Linked DNA regions of Homo sapiens: region 2 is linked to region 1. The links are contacts of gene promoters, found by promoter capture Hi-C in blood cells and fetal thymus (Javierre and others, 2016). All regions are on one chromosome and are shown on one strand. Each heading gives the region's core, a stretch centred on a gene start or on the middle of the fragment in contact. The rest is flanking DNA. Distances are from core to core; before and after follow the strand shown. Region 1 holds the start of ELOVL4 (ELOVL fatty acid elongase 4). Region 2 has its middle 110 kb from the start of TENT5A.

Region 1 (3,400 bases), core at 826-3,325:
ATGGCTGTTATTCTAGGTGGCAGACATGCGGGTTTCCCTCCCTTTGCACAACTAAACAAGGTAGGCTTTGGTTCTGGGCAGTCACTGGTATTTACAAACCACTTATTCATGCCAGGTAATAGGGTTCCAGATTGGGTAAGTTTTATGTTCTGGTTCTTGGTATATGTTTAGACAGCTTATAAATGTAAATAAACATTCTACTCTTACAGGTGGAGTGTGGACACGGTGATATCCGTGTGACCGCCATTCCCAGCTGAAGGTTATCTCATCTATGATTTTCTTATACGTGACTGGCACCCCCTAGTGAATAGGGACTTAAGTTGACCTCCACGGTAGAAGAAATACCAGGGAAATACCTGAAGCTGTTTTAACAATTTCTCCTTGTATTAAGTATTATGCTGCAGTTTTGCGTGTGTGAATGGAAGTATGGGTAGAGATCTGTTCTCCCTAAAAACTCCAGGATTCCACAATATAGAAATAGTAATCAAATTTTTAGGTGAAGCTCGAACTAATCCGAACTTTGTTAGATCATCACTGTAAATGAATGGGTATTTATCCACTCCCTAAATGAAGAGACTTGACTGGATTTCTTTTTTTTATATAGCTACTAGAATCTGTTACACATAATTTAGGATTGAGACTTGAGAAATTGTCATTCCAATCCAGAAAACTTTAGATTTGCAAATATATTTGACAAATTAATAAATTAACATTTTATTTGGTTAATTTCAAGAATAGGGCATTTAAAGAAGTCTGTGTTTGCTTTAGTTCGGCAATAAAGTTCCTGCCACTCACAATAATCCTTATTATTCTCTGAAAGACATGTTATATTTTTGTCATCATAAATATTTATTAATTACTGTTTATAGCACTGGGTTAGGTACTCATCAAGCAACCAAAAATAATTCTTACCATCTAGGATGCTTCCAATATAAAATATAGACAATATATAACCAGGTCAATTGGGAAATAGATCATTTCAGTATGATAAAAGATAGTATTCACATTAACAGTGTGAAAGGGCAGGAACAATAAGACACTTGACTCACTGGTCTTTAAAATGTAGCATCCAAAATGAGCAAGTGGAGAAAAGGTTAAACAAGTAGGTGACACATTTAAAAAACAAGTAGATGAAAGGACTATTCTCAAAAATCTTGTTTTATGTGAGAAACCATCAAATTATGAATTCCAAGTACTGTATTTTTTTTACTTTTCAAGGGTAGGCTCTCCTATACCTTATCTAAACAATTTTTCAAAATAGCCACAATTACTTTGTTTTCCTCTCTACACTAAATTGCCCTTTGCCTCTTGAGCGATTATCTTTTTCAGATTCACCTCAACTTCTTCAGGTTCAAGCGGACTTCACCTGTAAGCCCCTCTCGGTTCTCCCTCTTCTCTGAACTACTAATGGCCTAATTTAGCACAATTATATTGCTTTGTTCATTCCATGTATAGTAAAAGAGTCTACAAAACACATGCAAGCATTCATGCAATTATATGTTGATTTGTTCATGGGTCGACCCCAAAGTCTATTCTCCATCGCTGAAGCATGGAAGACAAATACCCTTCACTTCTTCAGAGGCATAACACATGCACTTCTCTTGTCATGGTGACAGGCATGTGCTGGTGGAGGTCAAAGAAACAGGAACACAAGTGAAATCGAGGTGAGTGTCAGGTAAGGACCAAAGCACCACGCCTACCTCATCTTTGCCCACAGAACACCCATTCTTCCCGTGTCCTGTTTCCCAGGACGTATCCGGGGCGGATAAGAAATCACCCGTGGGGAGGCGGTGAACTCCTCCGCAGGGGCCGATGCCCGGGACAGGGGCGGGGAAGGCTAATGAGGCGACTTGTGCGGGGAGGGGCCAAGGAGGAGCCCAGGTGTCCCGCTCCCGCTCGACGGCGCGCGCCTGCGCGAGCCCAGTTGGCGTCGCACCCTTGAGCGCAGCATCCCTACGCCAGCGAGTCCCAATACTAGGGAGGGAGGGAGGGAGGAGGGGCGGCCGGCCCCCCGCCCCCGCGCGCGGCCACGTGACGCCGGCTGAGGAGATTGGAGGGGCGGCTGCGCGAGGCTGCAGACTGGTGCAGCGCACTGTGCTGGCGGCTGGGCCTCCTCCACCTCCTCGTCTTTCTCCCGGGAACCTTGACGACGCCTTCCGCTTGGCCCTGCCTTCTGCCGCATCCCCGCCGCCGCGGCGCCTTGAGGAGCAGGAGAAGACGCAGCCGGGCCGCCGCCGTTAGAGGGGTTCCCGGCCGCCGCTCGCCCCGTCGGCCGCCACCGCCTCCGGGGTCAGCCCTCTCTCTGGGTCTCCGCTTTCTCCTGCCGCCAGCGCCCGCTCATCGCCGCGATGGGGCTCCTGGACTCGGAGCCGGGTAGTGTCCTAAACGTAGTGTCCACGGCACTCAACGACACGGTAGAGTTCTACCGCTGGACCTGGTCCATCGCAGGTAAAGCCGCTGACTTCCCCATCCTCGCTCGGTCCCCCGCGGGGGGTCACCGGCCCCTGGTCTCGCAGCTCCCGGGCCCGGCCCCACAGGCCCCCGCGCCCTGCGGCTTTCGGATGCTGCGGATCAGCGGAGGGGCCGGCGCGGGCACTGCGGTTGAGCACTGGTTAATCTGATCCGAATGTTAAGGCCTCCCCTCCCCCGACACTCGCAGGGTTTTCTTCTGAGCTCCCTCCATCTCTCATCAGCTCTCGGATGCGGGAGCTGACATATCAGATGGAGCCTGTGCAGCCAGGAGCTCCTCGCAGGAGCCGCCCCACCCTGTGCTCCCACATCTCCCGAGCTCGCCTCCCTCTTCCCCGTGCACAGGATTCCTTTTAACATTTAGTCCTATTTTGTATGGAGAGCGGGCTGGGGAGGAAGGAGGGCTTCAGGGGCAGCTGAAGGTACAGGAGGTTTCTTCAGCCTCCTGGTCGCTTTGACAGAACCCTGCTAATCTTTTCTTCTATCTAGCTCCTTCATCTATAGTATAATTCGGACTGAAAAGTAAAATAATATTGTTTGGCTCCTTGAACCTTGAAGAATGTTAGTTTCCGAGGCATTTTCAACAGCAAATATGTTTGAAGTGATTGTCTATAATGGCTTTGCGCACTGCAGTGCAGTCAGGGGGAGGGGGAGGCCAAAACACCGGGGAAGAAATCAGTCTTTAGGAAGGGGGTCTCTACAGCAACACCTAGAGGTTGTCCCAGATGCCTACATATATACAGTTCTTAAATCAGCAAACTTTTCTTTAGCTGTTGCAGTTAATTTGGCAGGGCTGTCAATTGTTTGATTTATGCAGCTTTCCTAGCGTCCAACTGTGATATTATATTTTTACATTGTACTGTTTATTTCTTCATTTGCTTCGCTGCTTTTGATTTTAAAGCATTTAAAAGTCTTTGAAATCTAAAATAAG
Region 2 (3,262 bases), core at 246-2,745, 1.7 Mb before region 1:
TGTGGCACATATGTCTGCTAGAACCCTTCTGTCTCTCCTCTTCTATTTTCAGAAGCACTTTACATGTGTTTAGAGTATGAGCCAGCCATCATAAAACTATGGCTTTCCTTGCGCAGTGATAACAGCAACAAGAATTCCATGACTGTTCCCACAGCTACTAATACCTTTCAGTGAGCGTCTGCTCTGTGCCAGGCACCGTAATGGATGCTTTGTATACATGATTTCTTTTAGGCTCCCAACACCTTAATCTGTTTCTTGGAAACTTTGGCAAAGTAATTCTTCATGAAAATGTTTCCATGGTCAAGCACATTTCATAAATACTGAAAAATTATATGCTCTTCCTGGAAAGTCATACTATCTAATTAGAAAACAAAAGATCTTGAGAAATCTTATATTAAACAGTGTTTCATTAGCCTATATATTGCTATGAAAATCATCGCTCCATGACTAGCTTATTTATTTATTTATTTCATGTTTGTGCTTGGCATCCTTTTATATTCTGCAGCCCTAATGTTCTTTGGGACACATATTTTGACTCTATGTACTGAACGCTACTTAAGGTCAAATAAAAGTGTGGTAAAAGTTTTGCATTCCAGACATTATGTTCTTTACTGCTTTCCCTTTTGGATATTATTCATTATTATGTCCTTGATTCATTTGTACTGTGATGGGTTGGATTTCCTCTCTCATCACCGATAATTCTGCTGCTCATTATAAAAGCCATAATTTCTACAGTATACATATATATATACACATGTATATTTATAACCATATATATGTGTATATTTATAACTATATATACACGTGTATATTTAAAACCATATATACACGTATGTATATACACACACACACACACAGAGAGAGAGAGAGGAAAGAGAGAGAGAGGAAAGAGAGAGAGAGAGAAGTGTTAATATGTATAGAATTTGGAGTAAATACTTTGGCAGACATGATGGCTTTTAGTCTAAAGTATCGTGTTGGATTAGTTAGATTTAATTTTTGTTAGAATTTTAAGCTATTGAATGAAGTGTAAAAATAACAATAATCAATATAATATCATGTTTTGTTTAAAGCTTACTTTTCCTTATAACTTAAATTTTTTTTCAAAATGGGTACAAGTTTGTCTAATCATTCCTCAAGGCGGGAATTGCTAGGATTAAAATCGAATGGAATAATAAAATAGCATTTTAAAGAGCTCCTTAGAACTGGGATATTTTTCTATTTTTGTTTGAATAAAGCAAAGTCATAACAGTGTCTGGCACAGAGAAGGTATTCAATAAATACTTAATAAATGAATTAACTTCTATACCATAAAAAGAAAATTGTAAGTTCTAAAACCACAGCTGACACATAAATCTCTTGCCTAACCTCCTTAATAAATACTCTAATGCTCTAGTTTCTTCTCTGTGTTAGAACTGGGCTTGGGTTCTTTTAGAGTCGCTTATTGCCATTAAGAGTGTCTGAAGGTAGTCATCTAACTTATTCTTTTTACCTTTTTTTTAAACAAAGTCAGAATTTTCTTCTGAAAATTTTTGGAATGATGGCTGTCGTTAGGCAGATTTTAATTACTCTTATGTTTGTACTAACTGTTAAAGAAATAGTTATTCACTGACGTGTGTTACATCATAAGGCTGACTTTATTCATGACCATCGCAATAGGTACAGGTACCTTGGCAGTAGAGTTTTGCAGTTGGGAGAGTGAGTGAGCTCAACTCTGAATACAGCATGAGCAAGTGGGAATTTATAGCCAAGGAGCAGGGTGGGAGTCAGTGGATGGAAAATTACTAAGAGGAAACATCAGGGGTGAGAGGGATTCTGGCTAGACCAACCTAACAAGATTCTCGCTGTAGACACCCCAGGCGATCAGTCATCACTGCAGGGCAGGCAGAGGATAAGGAGCCAAATATCAAGGGTGAAGCTTCTTGTTAAACTGACTTAGCAAGGCTCTCTGCTAAAACTAGATTTAACAAGGAAATGCGCAGATGAACTTAGGAGAAGATTCAGAAGGTTGATAAATTTTCATCAAGCAGAGACTCTTTGTCAAAACCTCAAGATATTATAAAATAGACCTTTTGGTTTTTTTCTTTTTTGTCATTAAAGCCAAAACTCTTTCCTATTTCTTTTATGTTTCCTTTTTAAAGCTCTTTATCAAATTCTTTCTTTCTTAGGATTTCTTTGTCTAGTATCATAATTATATAGAACACTAAGATTTCTTTTGTCTATACTTTCCAGGAGCTACTAAAAAGAATGGTTGAATTAAGAAATTACTAGACAACATAATATTCAAAGAAGAAGATTTAATTCCTTAGGAAAATCATGTGAATTAAGTTACTTTTATAATTGTATGAAATAATAGGTTTTTGAGAATTGTGGAAAGCCTAGGTAAAGGTATTATTCAGACACATTGTGCAGTGATCTTACTTTCTCCCCAAGTTATGCCTTTCTGATGCCGAATTTAGTTCAAGAATTGGATGTGGGAGTTGATGTTGTAAACAAAATAATATAACTGTTAATGCAAAAGTTCTTCCAAGATGGTGGTGTAAGTGCAAATATAACAGGGAAAGATATGACAGTATTCTGATAGAAAATATAAATAACAATTGCTTGCCCCCTTCAGAAGCAATAGGGGCAAAGGAAAGTGTGTAGAGATTTGCAACATCTGCCTTTGCAGGTGGAGCCACCTGACTCTGACAAGCCTTCATGTCTTCAATTAAATAAATTGGAAACTTCATCTAATGTGTACACATGGTGGGAGGTAGGGGTTGCCTGTGTGTTTACCTATGTGTGGTCTCCTCTCACCAATTTGTGACTCATGAAACACCTCAAAATGCAACATGAGCATTGTTTAAGCAGCTAATTTTTTAGGGCAATCTGTTACTATATTTACAAGTAATATTAACAAAGTTATTGCAAGTCATTATAAGAGACCTATATCATGCTAAAAATTCAACAATTTTGATGAAGCTGAATAGTCACAGAGTTCAAGGGATGCTTAAGTCATTCCTTGTCAAGCATGAGCTGTTCACCCTAGCATGTGAGTTGAAACTTGATCATCTCTGGCAGAAGTTCCATTCATTGCTGGGAGGTTGCACATGTTAAAATCTTCTTTATGTTGAGTTGCCATCTATACCTCTATCTCTGTAACTCCCATCACCCTCTGCCCTTTAGGGACACAAAGAACAAATAGAATTTCTATTCCGTCTGACAGCTGGCCATTCAATTATTTATTCATTTATTCAACAGACCTTTATTGAGTAACAACCAT

Evidence for each region. The method cuts DNA at HindIII sites, captures the fragments that hold promoters and counts their contacts. A CHiCAGO score of 5 or more calls a contact.
Region 2: a contact is called between a fragment that was not itself captured here and the fragment with the promoter of ELOVL4 in region 1, in 1 of 17 cell types (neutrophils). The highest score is 5.4, in neutrophils.

The regions. Positions count from the first base shown.
Region 1 is chr6:79,946,228-79,949,627 of GRCh38, reverse strand. ELOVL4 (ELOVL fatty acid elongase 4) reads left to right here and starts at 2,075. Exons shown (of 6, transcript NM_022726.4): 1 at 2,075-2,448. The coding sequence starts at 2,349. LOC124901350 reads left to right here. Exons shown (of 2, transcript XM_047419628.1): 1 at 1-60; 2 at 1,617-2,241. The coding sequence starts at 1,813. The coding sequence ends at 2,241. LOC124901351 (a long non-coding RNA gene) reads right to left here and starts at 1,823. Exons shown (of 3, transcript XR_007059656.1): 1 at 1,701-1,823. RefSeq lists a silencer at 1,966-2,015. The HindIII fragment of the contact is 8,446 bases long and covers 1-3,400 here.
Region 2 is chr6:81,637,145-81,640,406 of GRCh38, reverse strand. No RefSeq gene overlaps it. Among named protein-coding and RNA genes, the nearest start is that of TENT5A, 110 kb to the left of the region's middle. The HindIII fragment of the contact is 845 bases long and covers 1,073-1,917 here.